7 separate regions of the Homo sapiens genome follow, and regions 1, 2, 3, 5, 6 and 7 are each linked to region 4. Evidence: promoter capture Hi-C in 16 types of primary human blood cells and fetal thymus (Javierre and others, 2016). All regions are on one chromosome and are shown on one strand. The core of a region is centred on a gene start or on the middle of the fragment in contact, and the rest is flanking DNA. Distances in the headings are between cores, read along the strand shown. Region 1 overlaps CYLD (CYLD lysine 63 deubiquitinase). Region 2 has its middle 4.6 kb from the start of LINC02128. Region 3 holds the start of LINC02168 (long intergenic non-protein coding RNA 2168). Region 4 holds the start of CNEP1R1 (CTD nuclear envelope phosphatase 1 regulatory subunit 1). Region 5 overlaps CYLD (CYLD lysine 63 deubiquitinase). Region 6 overlaps LINC02128 (long intergenic non-protein coding RNA 2128). Region 7 overlaps CYLD (CYLD lysine 63 deubiquitinase).

Evidence for each region. Contacts are between HindIII fragments. The CHiCAGO score rates a contact against its expected background, and 5 or more counts as called.
Region 1: a contact is called between a fragment that was not itself captured here and the fragment with the promoter of CNEP1R1 in region 4, in 6 of 17 cell types (total CD8 T cells, naive CD4 T cells, naive CD8 T cells and 3 more). The highest score is 10.1, in total CD8 T cells.
Region 2: a fragment that was not itself captured here is called in contact with the fragment with the promoter of CNEP1R1 in region 4 in 7 of 17 cell types (naive CD4 T cells, non-activated CD4 T cells, total CD4 T cells and 4 more); the score reaches 8.1 in naive CD4 T cells.
Region 3: a contact is called between a fragment that was not itself captured here and the fragment with the promoter of CNEP1R1 in region 4, in 11 of 17 cell types (naive CD8 T cells, naive CD4 T cells, total CD8 T cells and 8 more). The highest score is 20.2, in naive CD8 T cells.
Region 5: a contact is called between a fragment that was not itself captured here and the fragment with the promoter of CNEP1R1 in region 4, in 11 of 17 cell types (total B cells, total CD8 T cells, naive CD8 T cells and 8 more). The highest score is 15.4, in total B cells.
Region 6: a fragment that was not itself captured here is called in contact with the fragment with the promoter of CNEP1R1 in region 4 in 1 of 17 cell types (total CD4 T cells); the score reaches 6.6 in total CD4 T cells.
Region 7: a contact is called between a fragment that was not itself captured here and the fragment with the promoter of CNEP1R1 in region 4, in 9 of 17 cell types (naive CD4 T cells, total B cells, naive B cells and 6 more). The highest score is 11.8, in naive CD4 T cells.

Annotation. Positions count from the first base shown.
Region 1 is chr16:50,764,449-50,767,951 of GRCh38, reverse strand. The region is part of intron 5 of CYLD (CYLD lysine 63 deubiquitinase); the gene reads right to left. Among named protein-coding and RNA genes, the nearest start is that of CYLD-AS1, 23 kb to the right of the region's middle. The HindIII fragment of the contact is 556 bases long and covers 1,812-2,367 here.
Region 2 is chr16:50,833,608-50,837,213 of GRCh38, reverse strand. No RefSeq gene overlaps it. Among named protein-coding and RNA genes, the nearest start is that of LINC02128, 4.6 kb to the left of the region's middle. RefSeq lists an enhancer at 27-1,433. The HindIII fragment of the contact is 1,380 bases long and covers 1,029-2,408 here.
Region 3 is chr16:50,805,599-50,808,703 of GRCh38, reverse strand. It overlaps LINC02168 (long intergenic non-protein coding RNA 2168), which reads right to left and starts at 2,032. Exons shown (of 2, transcript NR_146573.1): 1 at 1,897-2,032; 2 at 1,075-1,286. The HindIII fragment of the contact is 6,211 bases long and covers 1-3,105 here.
Region 4 is chr16:50,023,227-50,026,706 of GRCh38, reverse strand. It overlaps CNEP1R1 (CTD nuclear envelope phosphatase 1 regulatory subunit 1), which reads right to left and starts at 1,482. Exons shown (of 6, transcript NM_001281789.2): 1 at 1,367-1,482; 2 at 240-311. The coding sequence starts at 1,391. RefSeq lists a silencer at 1,169-1,478 and an enhancer at 1,292-1,793. The HindIII fragment of the contact is 11,127 bases long and covers 564-3,480 here.
Region 5 is chr16:50,746,525-50,749,752 of GRCh38, reverse strand. It overlaps CYLD (CYLD lysine 63 deubiquitinase), which reads right to left. Exons shown (of 19, transcript NM_001378743.1): 3 at 1-177. The coding sequence starts at 54. Among named protein-coding and RNA genes, the nearest start is that of CYLD-AS1, 5.4 kb to the right of the region's middle. The HindIII fragment of the contact is 2,275 bases long and covers 704-2,978 here.
Region 6 is chr16:50,872,453-50,876,031 of GRCh38, reverse strand. The region is part of intron 1 of LINC02128 (long intergenic non-protein coding RNA 2128); the gene reads right to left. Among named protein-coding and RNA genes, the nearest start is that of LINC02128, 34 kb to the right of the region's middle. The HindIII fragment of the contact is 3,284 bases long and covers 1-3,148 here.
Region 7 is chr16:50,780,177-50,783,415 of GRCh38, reverse strand. It overlaps CYLD (CYLD lysine 63 deubiquitinase), which reads right to left. Exons shown (of 19, transcript NM_001378743.1): 10 at 2,005-2,170; 11 at 950-1,091. Among named protein-coding and RNA genes, the nearest start is that of CYLD-AS2, 22 kb to the left of the region's middle. The HindIII fragment of the contact is 1,122 bases long and covers 765-1,886 here.

The DNA.
Region 1 (3,503 bases), core at 840-3,339, 740 kb before region 4:
TTTAAGATAAATACTACTAATGAAGAATTCCTTGTCAGGTTATATTCCAGGAAAAATAGAAAGGGTGGTTTTTTTCTTTGCTTTGCTTTTTAAGTGCTACTGTAGAACCCAAGATAATTTACATTTCAAACCAAATTGAGATGTGGAAAAAATAGACAGAAGGAAATACAGCTCTAGAGTGTGTGTGTGGGAGAAAGCACTTCAAGTATTTATTCTACAGCCAACTGAGAAAAACAATCAATTATACATAAGCCAACTTCATAGTTCAGGTATCTCAATCTTAAATTATAATACTAAACTAATGATTTCCCTAGTCTCCTAACTTATTCAGTATAATGAATTGCATTCAGTTGTAAAATGTAAAATTCAAAGAAATGCAATTAAGGTAGGTAAAGAGAACGGTTACTTTCAATCTAAAATGCTTTTTTTTTTAATTATTTTTTGAGCTTTCAAAAGTACTCTATGGAAATTAAAAAAAAAAAAAATTGAAACCCACAAACCCACACAGGCACACCCTGGAGATATTGTAGGTTCTGTTCCAGACCACCACAATAAAGCAAATATCACAATAAAGCAAGTCACACAAGTGTTTTTGTTTCCCAGTGCATATGAAAGCTATGTTTACACTATACTGTAGTCCATTACGTGTGCAATACCATTATGTTATTGAAAATAATGTATATACCTTAATTTTAAAAATATTTCATTGCTAAAAAATGTTAATGATTATCTGAGCCTTCAAGGAGTCATAGTCTTTTTGCTGGTGGAGGCTCTTGCCTCAGTGTGGATGGGTGCTGACTGATCACGGTGATGGTTGCTGAAAGTTGGAGTGACCGTGGCAATTTCCTAAAATAAGACAACAATGAAGTTGGCTCTTTCTTTCATAAAAGATTTCTCTGTAGCATGTGATACTGCTTGATAGCATTTTACTCACAATAGAAGTTCTTTCAAAACTGGAGTTAATCCTCTCCCAAGCCCTGCTGCTTCTTTACTAAGTTTATGGAATATTCTAAATCCTTTGTTGTCATCTCAACGATGTTCACAATATCCTCACCAGGAGTTGATGTCATCTCAATGAACCACTTTTCCTTTCTTCATCCGCTCAAGTTTGATCATGAGATTATAGCAATTCAGTCAAGTACATTTTCAGGCTCCACCTCTAGTTCTAGCTCTTTTGCTACTTCCACCACATCTACAGTTATTTTTTCCACTGAAATCTTCAGTCCCTCAAAGTCATCCATGAGGGTTGGAATCAACTTCTCCCAAACTCCTGTTAATGTTGATATTTTGACCTCCTCCCATAAATCATGAATGTTCTTGATGGCATCTAGAATGGTGAATCCTTTTCAGACAGTTTTCAATTGACTTTGCCCAGTCTGTCAGAGGAATCCTGATCTATGGCAGCCTTACAGAATGTATTTCTTAAATAAAACTTGCAAATAGAAATTACTCCTTGATCCATATGCTGCAGAACAGTTATTGTGCTAGCAAGCATGAAAACAACATTAATCTCCTTGTGCATCTCCATCAAAGCTTTTGAGTGACCAGTTGCATCATCAATGAACAGTAATGTTTTGAAAGGAATCCTTTTTCTGAGCAGTAGGTCTCAACAGTAGACTTAAAATATTCAGTTAAGCATGCTATAAACACATGTGTTGTCATCCAGTCTTTGTTGTTCCATTTATAGAGCACAGGCAGAGTAGATTTAGCATAATTCTTAAGGATTTTGGGATTTTCAGAATCCTGGCTTCAACTTAAAGTCACCAACTGCATTAACCCCTAACAAAAGAGTCAGCCTATCCTTTGAAGCTTTGAAGCCAGGCATTGACTACTCATCTCAGCTATGAAAGTCTTAGATGGTATCTTCTTCCAATAGAAGGCTGTTTTGCCTACACTGAAAATCTTTTATTTAATGTAGCCACTTTCATCAATTAACTTAGCTAGATCTTCTGATAACTTGCAGCAGTTTCTATATCAGCACTTGCTGCTTCATCTTGCACTTTTCTGTTATGGTGATGACATCTTTCCTTAAAGTTTATGAACCAACCTGTGCGAGCTTCCAACTTTTCTTCTGCAGCTTTCTTACCTCTCTCAGCCTTTCAGAATTGAAGAGAGTTAGGGCCTTGCTCTGGATTAGGCTTTGGCTTAAGGGAATGTGCTGGTTTGATCTTCTATCCAGATAACTAAACCTTTCTCCATATCAGCAATAAGGCTGTTTTGCTTTTTTATCATTCATGTGTTCACTAAAGTAGCACTTTTAATTTCCTTCAGGAAATATTCCTTTGCATTCACAACTTAGCTAACTTTGGCACAAGAGGCCTAGTTTTCAGTCTCTCTCGGTTTTCAACATACCTTCCTCACTAAGCTTAATCATTTCTAGCTTTTGATTTAAAGTGAGAGATATGCAACTCTCTCTTTCACTGGAACACTTAGAGGCCATTGTAGGATTATGACTTGGCCTAATTTTAATATTTTTGGGTATCAGGAAATAGGGAGGCCCAAGGAGTGAGAGAGACAGAGGCCCCACTAGTCAGTGGAGCAGTCAGAATACACACAACATTTATCAGTGGAGTTTGTCATCTTATATGGGTGTGGTTTGTGGTGCCTTAAAACAATTTCAATAGTCACCTCAAAGATCATTGATTACAGATCACCATAACAGATATAATAATAATGAAAAAGTTTGAAATATTGCAGGAATTACCAAAATGTGACACAGAGACACGAAGTGTGCACATGCTATTGGAAAAATGGCATTGACAGACTTGCCCAAAGCAGAATTGCCACAAACCTTCAATTAATAAAAAACACATATCTGTGAAGCACAATAAAGAAAAGCGCTATAAAATTAGGTATGCCTGTATTTGATTTCGTAAGACAAGTGAAATTACATTTAGCCATGTTACTCTGGGAAAAACAATATTAGCATAGAATTGGTTATCCCTGCAAGAATACATAAATAATGAAAGAAAATTTGTTTTTCAAGTGATTCCCCCATAGCTATCCAGCAAGTTAACATTATAAAATGAGCATAACTCCTAGAATTTGCTTAGGACACAGTGTCTCAAGCTCAGTTCTACTAAGGTTCTGAACCAGATAATTCTGTGTTGTGTAGGGCTGCCCTGTGCACTGTAGGAAGTTTAGAAGCATCACTGGTCTCCATGCATTAGAGGCCAGTAGTACTCTCACCTCAGATGTGGCAATCAAAAATCTCCAGACACTGCCAAATGTCCCCAGGAGACAAAAGCATCCCAGGCTGAGAACTACGGGCTTAGACCTAAAAAATGCACTAGTTACACAGTAAAAATAGTAGCATATTTTAAACAATAACAAGTATATCTAGAAAGAATTAAGAAAGCCAAAAGTTGGTCCTTTGAAAAAATGAAAGTCAGAAACCACTGGTAAGATTGGTGAAGAATATAAGAAAGCACAAATGATTAACATTTTGGATGAAAATAGGAACACAAGGGCAGATGCTGCTGAGGTTGAACAGAAAATTAAGA
Region 2 (3,606 bases), core at 469-2,968, 810 kb before region 4:
AGGAGTGTGTGGCATGTCTGGTGTTTAATGTTTCAGCCTCTCTTCTGCGTTCTTTTACATTTAGTGAATTACCAATATTAAGGCAAAATAGATCTATTAGACAATTACCTAAGGGAACTCAGCTGCTACCATAAAGCCAATGAAGTTATGACAGCAGGGCCCAGGAGGAATCAGAGCTGAGTAAAACCTGTCGAGGCTGCTGACAAATGATGATAAAGTGGTCGCTTTTGCCAGTGCTCAATGGAAATTGACAAGGTGAGCCTCCCCACCTAATGAACAGATCCAACCCCTGTTCCCGATGAAATGCGCAGCAAGTTTAATCTCAATAAGCATCAAAATAAATTTGTTCCCACGTTTAGAGAGAGCACAGACATGTGGGCAGGAGCCATGGCCTTCATGGATGGGACCCAGGCTGTGGTGTAGGGGTGGCAGTGAAGGTGCTGGGGGCTTCCCCATCAACAGTATCTCAGGTACATCTGCCTAAAAATACCTCCATTGCCCATTCTGTCCACTCCCAGAACAGAAACTGAGGCTCAGATGGCACCTACGTCACAGAGACCCCAACCGCTCAGAGAGCAATTGTCTCCATAACTCCTATTAAATGTGCGCAGCTCTGATTCTTATAAAGTAATGTCAGTTACAGAACAATACCAGCCTGCCAGGCAAGACACATTAGAGGAACAAGGCGGGTGGCGTGGGGGTGGGGGGAGAGACACTCCCACCACCAACCCTCGGAATACAATGCACCAGCTGCACATTAATAAATATGTAATGTTTGATTAGAAATATGTATAGTATTTTTTTCCCTCCCCAAATGCCGGCTCGCCCTCAGGCGGAAGACGGGATCTGGCCCACACTGACGGGTTTCTTTCTTGCTTGCTTTGAAAATACAAACTCAAATGTTTTCCTGTCCCAGCTGTTTCCCATTGTTGCTGTTTATCAGCTTGAAGGATGAACAGTGGAATAAAAAAACACGCTTGCATTTCAAATGTGCCAGTCAGTCACTCCATTGTTCAAAGAAGAAAGCTTAATTGTCTGTGCTGGCAAACTTCTTTTTGGTGAATGTCCAGGTTTTAAGAAAAGCTATTCAGCTGTGCAATTTGTTTAATACATGCAGAGAAAAGCATATAAAATCACACGTTTTTCTGAAAAAAAAATTAAATAAGGGGAAAAGAGGAATTTTGGAAAAGAACGAGTCACACATTGAAGTTTCCCGATTGCCCCCACTGGGCACAGGTTTCTGTGTCCTCTACTGAAGTCTCACTTTTCTCTTGGGATGCTCCAGAAAGTCCCACTCAGTGGTTGAGCTTGGTGCTGACAAACAGCACCGGCTCTGAGCTGACGGCCCAGGCAGCAGAAACTTCAGATCGTGCCGGCCAAAGCTCGGCTTTCCCTGTGATTACACCAACTTGTATTTGAGCAGCTCCTGCTTTCTAGGAGTGAGGTACAGATACAGCCAGCAATGCTTGAGAACTTCTATGGATAAAGTTAGTTATGCCCAAAGCAGAGAGGCCCTGTCACAGCTTACCTGTCAAGGTGGGCACACAGGGATAAGCCTGGGCACCCCCAGCAACCCATCTAATTCAGGGGCAAGTGGAATCCGTGGTTGCCTGGTGAGCCTGCAGGGAGAAGGCGCCCAATCTCAAACACCACCCCTGAACAATCCCACAACCAAATGGCAGAAATGCAGTTTCAAAGGAGCGTGGTCTTCTGCTTGGGCTTGAGTGTTCTGGGCTTACCTTGCAAAACAACCTGGCCTCAAGAGGTTTCCATGTCAAAACTGGATGCTTGGGGATGGGAGAGTGGTTTGCAATATCAGTAGTAAGAGCTTCTGTGTCCCCTCCAGACCCCCAAGTGTCTAAGAAACTGCCCCTAAGATGTAGATGACTGATACCAGATCCATATCTGTGAGCAGAGGACGGAAGAGAAATTGGATGTGCTGGCATTGAGGGGACACCAAGGCACTGGGGGAAAGGGCCCCCAAAGTGTGGTGGAAAAAAGAGGCAGCTTCATAGCTTAGCCAGAGGGTGATGGTATTACCCATCTCAATCACTCTCTTTCTAGATTTTACGAGTAATGTTTTTCGATACGTAAAAATAAATGATAAGGGCGTAAGTATCCCCGCCCAGTTCATAACAATGCCCCCACCAAATTTTTCAACATTCTCCCCCTGCCATGTCCCAGTGTTGTTCACAGTAAATTATTCATAGCTGCCCCATGAGGTCAATGCCCCCACTGCCTCAGTAAAGGAGAGAACAAGAGGCTTAGAGAGGGCCATGGCTTCCCAGCATCCCACAGCTGCTAAGCGGCCCCATGAGGACTTGAACCCAGCCCGCTGAGTTCTGGTCCACTTGGGCCTTGTGAAGAGAATCCCCAGTAGAAAAGGTTAATCAGAACCTTGTCAAGCTTCTCCACATCCCAACCAGCACTCTTCTAAGAGTATTTCCGGACTGGCCAGGGCAGCCTCTCTGGGCTGGGCATCTGATCCTAGGGGTGGCCTCAGGGTGACCCAGGAAGCCTCTGTGTCCGTAAGTGGCTCTCTGTCACACTCTTCACAGGGGTGATCTCAAACATCCTCCCCTCTCTAGAGCTCCTTGGCTCTACTCTTCAACTCTCTCCTTCTGCCTATGACAACCTCAAGTTCCATCTCACAGGGAACACAGAAGGAACAAATGGAAGCACAGTTCATTTCCTGCCACCAAACCTGGGAACACACCTACACCTATGCCTGCTCTTGACCTGTCCTGCCTGTCCTAAGCTAGCCCACCACCTGAACTTCAAGTCCTCATGTTCTCCCAGGGACTTCGCTGCAGCCATTGTCACCTCTTCTCTGCATCTTCAACCTCCCTTTTCCCCTACTGGCCACCACATCACCATGGAAACATGGCTAAGACTCTCCTGACTTAAGAAAAATGAGTACACAAGATGATAGACTCAGGAGGACAACACAGGCCTAGCCAGCTACCTGTCCTCCTGCCCCAATTCCTCAAAAGAAAAGCCATATTTAAAAGACAAAATGAATCTATAACCACATGTGGAAAAACAAGAACTTGTCTGCAATTCCTGGAAGATGGAAAGCAGATGGGACTGGGTTGGCAGGATTGGCGGAAACCACAGCCAACCACTATGGCCAGAGCTACTGAGGAAGTAAGAGAAGATCCAGGGTACTTGGGTTCAGAGTAAACAAATACAAAGAGGAGGGGGTGGAGCGATTGGCAGAGAAATTAGCAAAATAACTGTGTTCAGAATTGGTTTTCATTGGAACCAATGGAGCCGACACCCACCCCCATACCCAAACAGGAGACTGCAGCAGCATTTAGCTCCAGGTCCAGGTCAAAACTGAAGGATTGCACAGTAAAAAAAGGGAACCCGCATCTGCAATCAGTTTTATCCACTGATTTGCCACAGTGAGGTACAGGCACCTTCATTCAGGAGCAAGAAACATTTCTTTTTCTCCACGCATAAACAATCCTGTTATGATGTAAGTACAATCCCAGAAACCCTCTAGTCTCATTCACAATGAAAACAAAAAATATATATAAAATACCTAGGAATAAACCTACCAAGAAACGTTCAGGACCTATGTGAAGAAAACTATAAAAATTT
Region 3 (3,105 bases), core at 446-2,945, 780 kb before region 4:
GCTGGTCTCAAACTCCTGACCCCAGGTGATCCGCCCACCTCAGCCTCCCAAAGTGCTGGGATTACAGGCATGAACCATCATGCCCAGCCACAAATTTTTGTATACACAAAATTAGATCTATTATCATACATAAGTTTTTAATAATCCACTTTTTTCACCTAATATAGTGTGAATTTTTGCTCATGTCCTTAAAAAAATTACATTCCAGAAGAATCATTAATGACTGCACATGGTTAATGGTTATGGTATAGTCTAGCTGTACCATAATTTATTACAGTCCTGCACATTTAACTTTTTCAGGTTTGGCCAGCATTATAAACAGTGCTGCTCGGAGTCTGATGGCTAATCTTGGGCACATCTGCGATCATGATTGCCTTAGAAAAATTTCCCAGCAACAGAATTGCTGGGGATGAGGTATGCACAATATGAAGGCTTTTGAAAACCAAGCACTCGTGTATCGGGCACCTACATGGCTCACAATTTGTGCAAAATGGGTTAGGGGTAGCAGGCAGAGAAAGAACCAAAGCAAGAGAAATCAGCATTCTGAGGGGGGGGGTCTCTGCACACACCAGACCCAGACACCATGGAAGTGCCACATGGGGAAGGGGCTTCCAAAGCACTGAGCCACCCTGAACGTCAGAGCTGGAAGGGACAGCACAGACTCTAATACAATTCTCTGTATTAGGAATGGGAAAACTGAGGCTCAGAGAGGTGCCACCCAGGAAGGGGGTGACCTCAGTACTGGAATCTTTCCAACATGGCTGTGTGCTTTGCTTGAAGTGAGCCCTGCTCTGGGAGAAGGGCCCGAGGTGGCAGGCCGAGCCTTGATATGAAAGTATAAACCATTTTCCCCCACCTCCCAAGCAGAGGTGGATGGGAGGGGGTGAGGAATGCTGAGGAGGCCTCCAGCCGGCCTCACACAGGTAACAGCAGCAGTAGTGACCCATTTGAGCCCCCATGGTGTGCCAGATGCTGGTCCCAGGACTTTGGGTCTGTTATCACTGAAACCACACACAAAATGAGCGACAGGGGCACTGTGGTTTTGTCAGAGATGCTTGCTCTCATTTGCACAGAAAGGAGTTCATGCAAGTCTTTTTATTATTATTACATGTCACCGCAACAGGGTATTGCAGTGGGGGAAAGAGACTGGACTCAACTCCCCACTTATGCAAGTCTTAATCCAAGTGGAATCTCTTCTCTGGATTTCTAGAGTGGCAGGTGAGGGGGCGGGAAGCCTCTTCTCCATAATGGCAGTGGTTCTCACACTTCAGCGTGTGCCCGATTCTCTTGGTGGGAAAAGGGGGAAGTGTTCAAAATGCACATTCCAGGGCCCTACCCTGAGAGCTTGATGCTGTAGATTTTGCACAGGGCCTCCAAGACCAAATTCTCTTTTTTAGAGACAGAGTCTTGCTCTGTCGCCCAGGGTGAAGTGCAGTGGTGTGATCATAGCTCACTACAGCCTCCAACTCCTGGGCTCAAGTGATCCTCAAGCCTCAGCCTCCCAAGTAGCTAGGACTACAGAAGTGCATCATTACACCTGTCTAATTTTTATTGTTATTATTGTATTTTTGTAGAGACAAGGTCTTGCTGTGTTGCCCAGGCTGGTCTTAAAGTCCTGGCCTCAAGCCCTGCCCGCCTCAGCCTCTCAAAGCGCTGGAATTACAGGTGAGAGCCACCACGCCCAGCCGGAGCCTGCATTCTTAAATGTCCCTGGATGACTACGACGCAGGTTGGTCCAAAGACCCCTCTCTGGGAAGCACTGAAGACAGTGTGGTTGATTTTCACATTGGGATCCTGACAAAGTAACCTGTACTAAAGTTAACACAGTAGATATGAGGCTTACACTGAGAAAGGGTCGCAAATAAAGGGAGGTGACATCAGAATCCTATTACGTACCGACATTCCCCCCATAAAGCCACAGATTTGTAATTCATTCATTCCTTTGCAGATTCCGGGACCTCACAACCGACCTTACGGCATTCGCCCAGTAGATGGCGCTAGCTCATTTTAAACCCCGTTTGTAGACGGTGCCTGAAAGCTCAAGACAGAGGGAGCAGCAGATGCAGAGAAAGGGCAAGACAGAGCCCATTATGAGAGAGGACAGCCACAAACAGAAATGGTCAACACTAAGCAGCTGTCCCGAAATGACGCAGAGGAAACTTAAACCCTCTTAGGGTGTAGTGTGTAATCTGGTGTGTTGGCCCGACTGCCACATTGGCTTTCAAAATCCCTGCTGCCTCCCAAGCCTGGGTTCTGGCTGCGGCTCGGAGTTTGGGAGCTTAGATCTAGGACAGCGCCATAACCAGTAATGACCACAAGATGGCGCTGCTGCACTCAGGGACAAGATGCCTGAGAAAAATCTCAATCTCATAAAACCATCTAAAGGATAAAGAGTGTGGCTTAAAATAGGATCGTGGAGGGAGATGAGAGGCAGAAAGAGAACTGCTGATTAGACTTGCACCCTGTCTCTCAAGTTCATGTTTACGATATTAGTACTAATGCTGCTGCTGCTGCCACTGGTGGCTGCTGTTTACTCAGGGGCTACGGAGTGCCAGGCACTGTGATAAGCACTTTCCGTGCATGGTTTCATTCAAAGTTCATCAAAGCCCTAGCAGGGGAGTCCTACGATGTCTCCACTTCTGAGAGGAAGCATTATTTGGGGAACTAGAGACTGAGACGTCTTGTGCTTTCTCAAAAGAAATGGGGACAGTAATCTAATTCTGAGCACACTGACAATAGACAGTGGGGCTTCCACGAATAAAAGGCTGAAACAGCCTGGACAACATAGCGAGAGCCCCCTCTCTACAAAAATGTAAAAAGCCAGCTGGGCATGGTGGTGTGCACCTGCAGTCCCAACTACTGAGGAGGCTGAGGCGGGAGGTTTGTGCCAGGCACTGATCAAGGTGGTAAGGAAAGACAATTAAAGGGACTAGGGGAGGTCCTGAGGAGCCCACGATAAGCCATGCAGCCAGGGGATCAGTGCTGTGGAGAAAATGAAGCGCACAGGAGTCTATATGTGCCTGTAGGTGTGTTTGAGATGATGGCAGAAGTAAACTGGAGCTGGCATCCATGGCTCACAAGAGCCCATTATTAAATTTTCAGGAA
Region 4 (3,480 bases), core at 233-2,732:
TACGGCGCCTGGCCAAAAAATATGTTTTTTAATGGAAAAACAAAAACAACCACACGAAATAGACTGTTCTTTTGAGAAGGCCAGTTATAATTTCCTTTTCTTAAAAATTTCTTCATAAGGCATTGTCTACAATGTTAAATAAATTTAAACAAACATTTTACATAAAAGCAAATCATTCCTATATTAGGATAAAAGTATCAATTGTTAGTTTTCCCTTAAAATAACATTCAGGAACTTACTTCTCCAGCGTCCAGTAGCAGGTTGCAAACAATGAATATATTCAGTAAGTCTCCTCTCAAAAGCCTTGAGATCTAGGTATAAAGATGTCAATTTTCTAATTAGCCACTCTTACTCGTCTGACGAAATGTCAGAGTATTTACCTAACATTAAGACGACATGTGAGATACTCTTAACTGCTTCAGGTCTTACACACTAACTTCCATGTATCACTGCACTGTTTATTTCATTTACTATGACAGCTTTTTAAGCACTTGACAAAAAATTAGGGCTCTTTAATTCCAATTTCTCATATAAGAAAACTTGCTGATTTACTTTTAGAAGCTTCATAAATGGTATTGGGAGAAATAAGCAGCAGCCTCGGCCAGCGCCAAAAGCGAACATTTTCAGGGTTGCAAATAAAATTAAAATCAGGTCGAGTTTTAGCTCTCTGGGAACCAAGAACTTCCTATTAGAACCACGTAGTGCCTAACATCAAAGTCTTCGAGGTCTACCTGACTGCAATTACCCGCCTCCGGTTTCCAGCTCTTATATTTAATTAATGGCTACGCCGTCTGGCCTTACTAGACTTCTTGACACTGATAGCGAGTGGGTGTGGAAAGACATTCCCCTTGCCCCCTCCGAAGGGGTACAGGTGATCTTCGTGGCACCCAGGCAGCGCCTAGTTCTAGAAGACAGGGGCGTCTAAGCTGCTCCGAGTGAGTGGTGGGGTATCCTTTCCGCAGTGGTGTGCTTTAAACTTTAAAACACCGAGCAGCACTTCCTAACCTTGGCAGTTACCGGAAACCACCGCAGGAATCAGGGATACAACTCGCGGGGCTGTGAGAATGAAATGAAATGAATTAGCAGGCTGCAATGCACGAAGTGCAAGTGTCTGCCAGTGAAAAGAAAATAAAAATAGAAGCTGGCGAGGAGGTCGACCCTCTAGGTTTGTGGGGACTCAGGGAGCTGAGGCACCGCCCCCCGCGTCTGGCCAGGTACGGCCGCCTACGCGCCCCCAAGCTCCGGGCCCCTAGCTCCATCCTCTGCGGCCTCCTCCCGGGGCGGGGGTCTTCACGACGCCGGCTCCTCCGGAGCACCGCCAGCTTCCGAGGGGAGACGGGGGACGGGCCCGGGCGGCCCACCCTACCTTCCGCCTGCTCCAGCGAGTTCATGTCGGGCGGCAGCTCGGGTCACCGCCGCTGCCCTGTCCGCATCGCAGCTTCCGCGGCCCCCGCCCGGCCCGCAGCGCCAACTCCCACCTCTAACCGCTCCCCGCTGCCCCTCCCCGTCGCACCGCCCCTTGCCTAGACCCGCTACGCTCATTGGATTCCTCTACTAGACCTCCAACTAAGACAGCTTTCTATTGGCTGTCTCTTGCACCGGCCTCGGCGCCTAGCGTTGGACGGTCAGCCGGAGGGACCAAGAACTGCCGGCGGCCAGGCGGGCGTAACGCTGGCGTCGCCTGCTGCCCCGGGGAGGAACTGCAGCCCTCCGGAGCCAGTTCGTTCATTCATTTATCCCCCGTTCCCCGCTTGGTTCTTTCATTCGTCAAATGTTGATTGAGCGCCCACTACCTTCCAGGCATTATTCTGGTCGCTAGCGAGGGATACAGAAATCAAAGAGCTGGTTCTGTCCTCAAGGATCTCAAGGAGTAATGAAATCTGTACAGAACTAACTAGAACCCTAAATAACCAGTTTCCTTAATTATGGTATCCTAGATAACCAACCCCTTAAGTAAACACTTCTCTCTTGGTTACTTTCCTCTCACATCACCCAGCTTTCATAATTCCTAAATGAGGCAAAGTGTAAGCCCAAATACCTATAACTTAAGAAGAGATCTGTAAGGGATTGACTACATTTGTATTTGATCACAAGGCCTTCTTGTTCATTTATTGGTGGCATTCTTTCATTCAAAATCATTTTATTGCCTAACATGCTAGACACTGTATTGATACGCGTGTGAGCCAGGTAGACAGGATTCCTGCCCGCAAAGAGGAAGGGCTACAGCAGGCAACAAACATGCAAATAAGTAATTGATTTCAAATAAGAATAGTTGTGTTAAAATAGAGATCCTGGCCGGGCGCGGTGGCTCACGCCTGTTAATCCCAACACTCTGGGAGGCTGAGGCGCGTGGATCACTTGAGGTCAGGAGTTGAGACCAGCCTGGGCAACATGACAAAACCCTGTTTCTACTGAAAATACAAAAAAATTATCCAGACGTGGTGGTGCATGCCTGTAATCCCAGCTCTTTGGGAGGCTGAGGCACGAGAGTCACTTGAACCCAGGAGACGGAGGTTGCAGTGAGCCACTGCACTCCAGCCTGGGTGACAGCGTGAGACTGTCAAAAAAGAAAAAGAAAAAAAAAAGAATCTAAGACTGATGGGCTAGATTTTTTTGTGGCAGTAACATACCAACTTATAAACAAGACCTAAGGCCCTGCCAGGCAAGGGTTAAATCACTCAAGACCCAGACACTTAAAGAATAAACGATGTTCTAACTGCCACAATGTTCGTTTTTTTCCTCTAGCAGCTAAACAAGCAATATTAAAACAATTGCAGCTTACCAAGTACCAGTCACTGACTAACTGATCCCTTTGTTCCACAAGCCATAACTCCTGCTTTCATTAGACAAGAGACTGATTTCAGTAACTTTCTCCTGATAAGAGACCACCCACCATAGATTGGCCCTAGCCAGTCTACAGAGGCTGCACAATGAGTGCCTTTATGTTCTCTGCTTCGCCTTTTGACGTAAAGGGTCTAACTGTAATGCATTTAAATGTTAAGTCTCTACCCCAAAGTGAACATGTGACCCATGTAACATGCATGATTGTTTATTATGCATGTGTGCACCCCTCTTTCCTGAATAGCTTCTCCTATAACCTGTTAAATATGTATACTTGGCCAACCCATTTGGCATAAATTCCTGCTTCACCCTTCCTCCTTCAAAGTGCCTGCTTTTGGTCTCTGCCAGAGACCATACTTCCCAGCCTATAAGGATGGCCAGCCTGCAGGCTCCAACCCTTCAGAAATAAACCTCTTTAGGCCAGGCACAGTGGCTGATGCCTGTAATTCCAACACTTTGGGAGGCTGAAGTGGGAGGATCACTTGAGTCCAGGAGTTCCAGACCAACCTGGGCAACATAGTGAGATTCTGTCTCTACAAAAAACAAACAAACAAACAAAAAACATTTAAAAATTAGCTGGGCATGGTGGCATGTGGCTGTGGTCCCAGATACTCAGGAGGCTGAGGCAGGAAGATTGCT
Region 5 (3,228 bases), core at 592-3,091, 720 kb before region 4:
CTCTTCCCAGTAGGGTGAAGTGACTTTTTCTTGGCTCCATAAGCCTGAACTCATTGTGATATTAACTTCAAAATACTAATTCAAAAAAGGGAAACTACTAATAACTTTGTCATAAAACCGCAAAAGATAAATTCAGTGGCAGTCCCAAAGCATGTTTTCAGCAACGTGGTGTCCATGCTGTAAAAAGAAAGGAAATCAAAATGCCTAGTGAAAAAGCAAAAATAAACTTTAGACTTCATTCTACATGACTGAAAATTAAGACTGAAGACTTTTAAAATTTTCATTTGACCAGTAAACACATACACACAAATGAAATATTTTCAAAAAATATCTAAAAGGGCTAAAAGACATACATACTGTATTACTTTTATCTACTGTAACTGTGCATATTTAATTAATGAAATCCAATTGTAAAGTACTTTCAAAGACAACACAATGTTTGCTTCCAAGACACTGAAATTTATAAAATCAGATTCTAGTAAAAACTTTTAAAGATTACCCTTATATACATATTCTAACTTTTTTTAATTTATTTTTATTTATTTGTTTTGAGACAGGGTCTCACTCTTGTTGCCCATGCTGGACTGCAGTGGCACAATCACAGTTCACTGTGGCCAAGACCTTCCAGGCTCAAGTGATCCTCCTACCTCAGCCTCCCGAGTAACTGGTATTATAGACGCATATCACCACACACAGCTAAGCTTTCTATTTTTTGTAGAGACAGGGTCTCACTATGTTGCCTAAGCTGGTCTTGAACTCCTGGGCTCAAACAATCCTCCTGTCTTGGCCTCCCAACGCACTGGGATTACAGTCGTAAGCCACCAGGCCTGTCCCATATTCTGACACTAATAAACTTTTAAAAGTAGCGTTTCGGGCTGAGCTGTGTGGCTCATGCCTATAAATGATAGCTATGATATGGCCATATTGTGATAATGGAACATTTTACCTCTGACTCAACTTCATTTCATATATTTTTTCTGAAGATGGGCAATGTTCATCACATTAATCATAGTTATCTGATTTCTCAAATCGCAAATATCAGATATTATAATATGACTATATTAAAAATATTTTAAAAATCAATTTTGTAGCATCAAAACTTGTACTACATAGCAAGGGAATATCATGATATAACTGCATTATAATTTCTTTCTATTATTTCTTTTTCAAATTTTCATTTATTTTTATTTTATTTATTTATTTTTAAGACAGGGTCTCGCTCTGTCACCCAGGCTTGGGTACATTGGTGCGATCATAGCTCACTGCAGTTTCAAACTCCTGGACTCAAATGATCCTCCCACCTTGGCCTTCCAAGGTTCTAGGATTACAGGCATGAGCAACTGCACCTGGTCCTCATTTAAAATTTTTACAAGAATAATAATCTTTCCAATGAAGTAGGCTCATTCTCAAACCTATTTTAACTGATGGTTAAAAAACTACACAATTTCATTAATTTAAACTGAGACTTTACTTCATTATTTTAATTAATTTTCTGCTGAAAACAATACTTCCTAGGTATCCCTGTCATAAGAATGTGGCTATCTGGTTTCCAAAGACAGTACTTTCATTTCATCCTTCCTTGAGATAGAGGTATCCATTTCCATTATTCTGGGTAATGGCTGCAATTGATAGCACTATCATATTTATTTTATTCTAGCAATTAAAAAATAAATACTCCTAAAGAACCAAATTTTAGATTTAATCACTTAATGATCAAACAACCTGGCAAATCTATACACAGTGGAACACTTCTTTTAGAAAGCACTGCTAGATAATGAAGTATTCCATAATGGTAACGTTCCTAAAAGTCTCTCCCTCTACAAGCCAGCATGAGACATGTGGTTTAGCCAAGACAGGATACAGGTTAGGCACCTCCTTCAAACCAACATGACTGAAATATCTGTGTAACACTCAGTGAGGGTAAAAGCAGAGGTAGCATGAAGTGGTTCTCTTTTCTTCTTTTTTGTGGTGTGTTTGTTTTAATTCCACTTGAGGGCACTGTCTACTTCAGCAAGAATGGGATCAATTTATATTTGCCACTTATATAAGACACCTGTGGAAACCTCTATCTTGACACAATATAAACAAAACTCCTTATAAGGGCTGCCCAAACAGCTATCCAACCCCTCAATTTGGTTGGATTCCTTTAAAGGACCAAACTGAAGTGTTGGTTCTTTTTGACCAAAATGCTTTTAACATGTCAACACTTTCCACAAGAAAATGTCCTTATTTTTTTCTTGATCATTGATGTATCATTATGACTGTAAATTATTTTGCATAACTCTTGATCTGCAAGGCTGTTATTTTGTTAAAAGGCTGTATCTTATGCTTCCTGAGGTCGCGAATGCTTTCTACAGATCTACTGTCTAGAGTTTTCCCTTGCAATCAGCCATTTTCTGTGGTTTCCTGCTGTATGCATTTGACTCCTTTTACGGCCTTGTTGCTTTCCAACTTATCGCTTCGAATCAGTTCTGAGAAGCCAGGTAGTGAAATATGTTTGTGTGTTTGAAAACACAAAGCAACAATCGTGAAAAGAGGAATGCATACATTCTGAAAGGGTCTTTAGGAGCAAAGGGCACATAGGCTTTATTGAATAGAGAGTCTGGTCACTAGCAGAAGGTTAAGACAGTCAAAAAGCAACTTTCAAAAAAACGAGCTGTTGTTTTGGTTCTCTTTAAAATGTATTTAGATTTTTAGGGCCAAAATTTTTTTGAAAAAGGTAAAGTAATTCTATTTTGAAAAGAAATTCTTTTTTAAAATTCCTAAGAACAATGTCTTCAAATATTACAATCAGAAACTTCCCTGAATCTTAATAATTGCTTTATACCAACAGCTCCTACTCTATTGGTCCTGTAGCTTAACTATTCATGTCACAATTTAAAATAAAAATCATTAATGCTAATAATCTATTATTAAGACAAAACTAAATTACTATATGTGCATTAGGACATTATGTTAAATAAATTTGATTATAAGCTTGCTTTCTGAAATAATTTAAGGAAGAGAATCCACAGTAAAAATTGATATAACTGCTAGGTTTATAAAAATGTTTTAGGGTAATAAACTATAGCTTTCAAGTACCATATTTTAAAGTGAACTCTACAAGGAGTGGTAACTTTTTTCCTAACTTTCATTAGCACAAGTGGAAATGAGCTTAGACTTAGCAATAGGATGGGTCATGTTAGACAACTAAAATAGTCAAGCACAAGTTATCAAATATTTCAAAAG
Region 6 (3,579 bases), core at 257-2,756, 850 kb before region 4:
TCATTTAGCTTTCAATATGACCCTATCAGTTGGGTACTACTATTATCCTCATTTTGCAAGTGATTAAACTGAGTCATGGGGAAATTAGGCAAGTTGTCCTGTTCACATAGCTGGAAAGTGGTAGGAAGCACTCTGTAGAAGACTTTTCCCTTTCCCAAGTTCTTCCCTTGGGCATTTCACCAGCCTGAATGACTCCGGGTTTTCAAGCCAGGACATTAGAGTATGGGGGGATGTGTTAACAATAAGACCCTGAAGTTTCTTTTGGGACACACTCCCTGAAGATCCTTGACCAATAGATGTGCTATGGATATACACAGTGAGCCTCTGCAAGCCTAGTTGACAGCTGCTGCTGAAGGCTGAGCGCTGAATGGTGATACCAGAGGCTACAAAGTGTAGGGGGTTCTGGCCCAGCCAGAATGAAGAAACCCTCACTGAGCACCTCAGCCATTCAGCTGAGAAATCAGAAAGTCTATGCATAAAAGGTAAGGACCACATCTTAGAGAAAGAACCATGTCCTAACACTAAGGACAAAACCTAAATAGATGTACTCTAACAAAAAATAAAATTCAGTCCAACAGAATCAAAAGACTCCACCAGTAGTTCAACTGCCTTCCATAACAAAATCAACATCATTTAAAGGATGACAACAAAATTCAGAATATTCAGAACACAATAAAAATTACTACACATGCAAAAATGTAGGCAAAAGTGACCCAAAATCAACAAAAAAACAGACAACCTTGAGAGGTTCAGAAGTTGGAATTAACATCCAAGGACTTGAAAACAGCTATTATAAATATGTTTAACAATTTAAACAAAAACATGGACATGATGAATGAAAAATAAGGACTCAAATACAAACTACAAAGGAACAAAATGAAATTCTAGAACTAAGAAACATAATATAATGAAATGAAATATTCACTAAAATTAGTGAATATTTAGAATCATATTAGATATTGTAGAAAAAGCCAATGAACTTGAGGCTAGATCAGTGAAAATATCCAATTTGAAGAACAGAAAGAAAACACTTAAAAAATTAACAGAGCCCCATCACCTGTGGGATAATATTAAATAGTTTACTGAATAGTTAGACACATGCTATTGGGGTCCCAGAGTGATGAGAGAGAATAGGACAGGAAAAATGTTTAAAAGATTATTTCCCAAATTTCATGAAAAGCATCAGCTGAAAGATCCAAGATCTCAGCAGACCCCAAGAGTAAATACAATAAATGTTTTTAAAGGACATATTTTAAGATGGTGAAAGAAATATATATATACACACACACACACACACACATATATATATATGTATTCAGAATTGTATATCTAGCAAAAATGTTGCTCAAAATAAGGGTGAAATAGACATTTGCAGATAAACAAAAGCTGAGAGAATTCCTTGTCAACAGACTTTCAACACACACACAAACACACACACACACACACACAAACACAAACACAAATGCTTTCAAAAGTAATTTAGGCTTGGGGGTAATTAAATCAGATGGAAATTCAGTTATTGAGGAAAAAATAAAGAGCACTGGAAATAATAAATAAGTGGCTAAGCATAAATGATTATCTTTTCCTCTCTTCAGTTTTGTAACAGACAACTGACTATTTAAAACAAAAATAATAGCATTGTTTTGTGGAATTACAACATATATAGAAATAGTATATGTGAAAACAGAAAGAACATTAAAGATAAATGGAATTGTAGTGTTACAGGGTTTCACTTAAATTTAAAGTGAAGTCGTAGTTAAAATTAAAATTAAAGTTAAAATTTCACTTAAATTTTAAGTGAATTTATAGAGTATTAATTCTAAGTAGGCTATGATGAGGAGGATAGCTAAAAATAGAAAGAGATAGAGCTAAAAAGAGAATAAATAAAATAAAACGACATAGAATATAAAAGTATGCTGTATGCCCAAAATGAAGCAGACAGGGAAGGCAGAAGTAAAAAGTCAGTGAAATAGAAAACAAATATAAGATCATAGGTTTAAACCCAGTCATAGCAATAATTACATTAAGTGTAAATGCTTTAAACACTCCAGTTAAAAGGCAGCTGTTGTCATTCTGAATCACACAAACAAGACCAACTCTATTCCTACAAAAGAAATATTTTAAATATTAAGACAACAATTAAAAGGAAAGAGAAAAAAGATATACTACGCAAACAATAAACATAAGAAAGCTGCTGTAGCTATATTATCAGAAAAATAGACTTTAAGACAGAGTATTTCTAGAAATAAGTGAGCACATTTCATAATTACAAAAGGGGAATTCATTAGAAAGATATGACAATTATAAATGCCTATAAGCCTAAAAATAAATTTTAAAATACATGAAACAAAAGCTGACATAACTAGGAAAAAATAGACAAATCCACAATCATAGTAACTTATTATAAAATGCTTCTCATACTAGTTAGACAAAATATAAGAGTATGTGAAAAATAATATCAACCAATTTGATTTACTAGAAATTCATGAAAACATTACACCCAACAACTGCATAATAAACATCTTTTGTGGGTGCACATGACACAGTTACCAAAATAGACTATATATTTGGCCAGAAAATAAATCCAATCAATTTCAAATGATTGAAATTTTACAGAGTATAATCTCTGACAACAATGAAATTAATTTAGCAATCAATAACAATAAGATACTTTAATAATCCCCAAACATTTGGAAATTGTACAACACACTTCTGAATAACCCATGAATCAAAGAAGAAATCACAGGAATGAAAATAAGGGAATTGTTACTGACCTTACTGGGAAATAAAGGAATTAAAAAGAGATTAAGTAAACAATTACATGCCAAACATGTAACCCAGATTAAATGGACAAATTCCTAGAAGGATACAAATTACCTAAACTGACTCAAGAAGAAATAGAAATCTCAACAGACCTATAACAAGTAAAGAGATGAAATCAGTTAATCAAAATCTCCCAAAAAAGAAAAGCCTAGAACCAGACATACCCACTGGTAAATTCTAGCAAACATTAAAGGAAGAATCAATACCAGTCCTTCTCAAATTCTTCCAGAAATTTGAAAAGGAGGAAGCATTTCTTACTTATTCTATGGGGTCAGCATTTCCCTGACACCAAATCTAGATAAAAATATCACAAGAAAAGAAAGCTTCAGGTAATATACCTTATGAATATATATGTAAATCCAACAGCATATTTGGATTTGGACCAAGTGATATTTATTCCTGGAATGAAAGAGTGGCTCAATATATGAAAATCAATGTAATATACCACATTAACAGAATGAAGGGGCAAAAAAAACCCACACAATCATCTCAACTTATACAGAAAAAGTATTTGACATAATCCAACATCCTTTCATAATACAACTAGGAAAAGAAGGGAAGCTTTTCAACCAGTTAAGGGGCATCTATGAAAAACCCACAGCTTATATCATAGTCAAAGGTGAAAAATTAATAGCTGTCTCCCTAAGATCAAGAACAAGACAAAGATTCTTGTTTTCCTCACTTATATTCAAAATTGAAATAGTTCTAGCCAGAGTAATTAGGCAAGAAAAAGAAATGAAGTCACCAAAATTGGAA
Region 7 (3,239 bases), core at 76-2,575, 760 kb before region 4:
AAATGGCCGCCACTTTATTCTTCTTCCTACTTTAAAAATGTTAACATCCCATATTAACTTCCTAATTCTTATCATATGGCTACAGAACTGGCAGGCTACTCTCAATTTAGCCCAGTCTACAATCCTCAGAGCCTAAAGATTCTTGGTTCAATTTCCAGAGCTTAAAGATCCTTGCAATGTTAAGGCTGGGCGTGGTGGCTCATGCCCGTAATCCCAAGCACTTTGGGAGGCCAAGGCGGGTAGATCATTTGAGGTGAGACGTTCGAGACCAGCCTGGCCAACGTGGTGAAACCCCCGTCTCTACTGAAAATACAAAAAAGAAAGTTAGCCAGAAGTGGTGGTTCACACCTGTAATCCCAGCTACTCAGGAGGCTGAGTCAAGAGAATCGCTTGAACCTGGGAGGCAGAGGTTGCAATGAGCCCAGATTGTGCCGCTGCATTCCAGCCTGGGGGACAGAGTGAGACTCTGTCTCAAAAAAAAAAAAAAAAAAAAAAAAAATCTTAAGTTGTTCCACTTTGGAAAAAATTGCATATATGAGGGCAGCAGTGCTGCTACTGAAAATCGTTTTTTTAAAGACAGTAGTTTTATGACTGCCTTTACCTACTAAAAGAAATACAGCACATAACAGCCAATGGCTTTACTGCAAGTTATGTTGTTTGAGACATGCACAAAGATTTCCCAGATACCCTCTGTATATCTATTCCATTGTACCAATATCATTCACCTTTCTGGACACAGAAACATGAGACAACATTCAAAAGCTTAAAAGGAGTATGTCATAAAAAGCAAATCTCCCTTTCAATCCTGACCCACAGTCATCCAGTTTCTCTACTCAGAGGCAGATGGCAGTTTCTTTCACACACACTCACACGCACACACACACACACACCGGTATGTGTCCCTGCCTCATGGCACTATCTATACCTATTGCATTCTTTTTAAACTTACCAGAATAAGGTTGAGTCTAAGTAACAAGAATTGTAATGACCCTGGATGCCTTTCTTCTTCCCAATCATTATCTCCAAGCCTTCTTTTTCCATTTTTGGTGGAGTATTTTCTTCTACTACTTCACTTAAGTAGCCTCCAAATGCTGAAAAGATTTTTTTAAAAAAAGTAAATGAAAAGAATTCTTTTAAACTATTACAATATGTATTCCCATAAATATTTTTTCATTTTAAAATGTTTTTGTATTTTGATGCAAAATTTTTTCTTTAAGTGGAAAGTAGGCTTTGGTTAACTGCTATTTGACTTGGCTTATAAAAATTGCTATTGTTCATTTTCAACTTCATTTCCTCCAAGATTTAAAAACACACTTTAGAGTATTATGTGTAAAAAGCATCTGTCAAGTAAAATATGTTTCCCAAATATTTCACTATTTATCTGAAGTTGCTTCACTTTCAAGTTTGAAAAGAAAATGAAAATTCCAAAGTACTATTTCAACATAATAAGAGTGTTTTTCATAAAGATGGCTTTCCTGTTTGCACCTGCTGAAGCCCCAAGATGCTTTTCCACTATTATGTAGAAGTGGAAAGGAACAGCACCAGGAAACTGCCACCAATTACACATGATGAGGAGAGCTGTCCTCCAGCAATCAGTTGAAATCTACTTCTTACACTAAAATGCTGATTTCTTTGTAAGATACACTCACTGCTGTAAACAAGACACTGTGAGGGAAGTCAGTAAAAAAAAAAAAGAAGGTTACATTTCAATTTCTACCACTAGTATTGCTGAAAACTAAATGTCTGTCATCAACAGGAAGAGAAAAACAAACCACACTATTATTCACTTTATAAGTCCCAAACGCACGTCCTAATACTTTTTTAAGATGTCCCCTCTTAAAACAACTTTCTTATACACCATGCAACATTTTTACTGATTTAAAGCTTAATGAGCGTTGGCAAGAAATATATTAAAACACTGTCACCATCACCTAATATAACATGATATGAGATTAGAATTAGAGTCATTCCAGGTTGTTAAGTAAACAAAAAGCATCCAAATACCTAAAGAGTTACAGCGCTCAATCTGATTGGAAACCGGCTGCAATGATGCAAACCTAGAGTCAGGCCTGCAGCTCTTCAGTTTCACAAACAGCGCCTTCTTCAGGGCACAGGTGAAATACCGAGTGCCTCTGAAGGTTCCATCCGTACAGCCTGCACACTCATCTTCCTGAAAAAGAAATGCTTCAATATGCATTATACCGTGCCTTACAGAGATAGTATACAAAGAACTAAGGTTTCTAAGACCTGTTTCTAGTATACCCTTTCTCACCACTCCCTCTTCGCACCTGTACTGAGAACCTCATCAAGAAAAAGGAGTTGAGTAATCAGTGCTTCAGCCCACAGCTACTGATTTAAGAAGTGACTTCCTTAATCCAGCATGAAGTCCTTCTTGTATTTCCTTTCAGAATATATGCTTCAACCTCCCCTGGTTAAACGGGCTTTCCCGCACCATTTCTACAAGCATTAAAACAGGCAGGGAAGGAGAAGGCTATTTATTTTAACCCTCATTCTTGCCTCCCCACCATGCCCCATAAGATAGTATTCACTAGCATGGAAACAAACAAGAAAAAAAAAAAAAGAAATATATTTAAATTGGCCAGGTGTGGTGGCTCATGCCCATAATCCTAGCACTTTAGGAGGCCAAGGCGGGCAGATCACTTGAGTCCAGGAGTTTGAGACCAGCCTGGGCAACATGGCAAAACCCTGTCTCTACTAAAAATACAAAAAATTACCAAGCATGATGGTACATGTCTGTAATTCCAGCTACTCAGGTGACTGAGGCAGGAGAATAGCTTGAGCCCAGGAGGTCGAGGCTGCAGTGAGCCCTGACCGTGCTACTGCACTCCAGTCTGGGTGACAGAGTGAGACCCCATCTCTAAATAAATCCTAAACATACTCAACTTCTCCTTTCCTGATTACAAAATATCAAATGATATGTTCTCCTGATCTCTAAAGGGAAAACCTTTCCCTCTAGCAAAGGTCTCAAAAGATCTCTAAAAATGGTGATTAACTTTAAAGCCAGTGATATAATTATTAGAACTGACCAGGGGAAGGGGCTGAAGAAGAAAGAGAAAAGCTGATGGCAAATTTGCTTGATTTACTAAATTCTGTTTAATATAAGGAGCCTAAATCGATTGGCCTAAAAATCAACTTTCATTCCTTGAACATAAATCAACTAACATTAGGACAAGTGGGTCGCAAGCTTCAGGGGCGGCAAAGGGAAGTCAGAAAACATG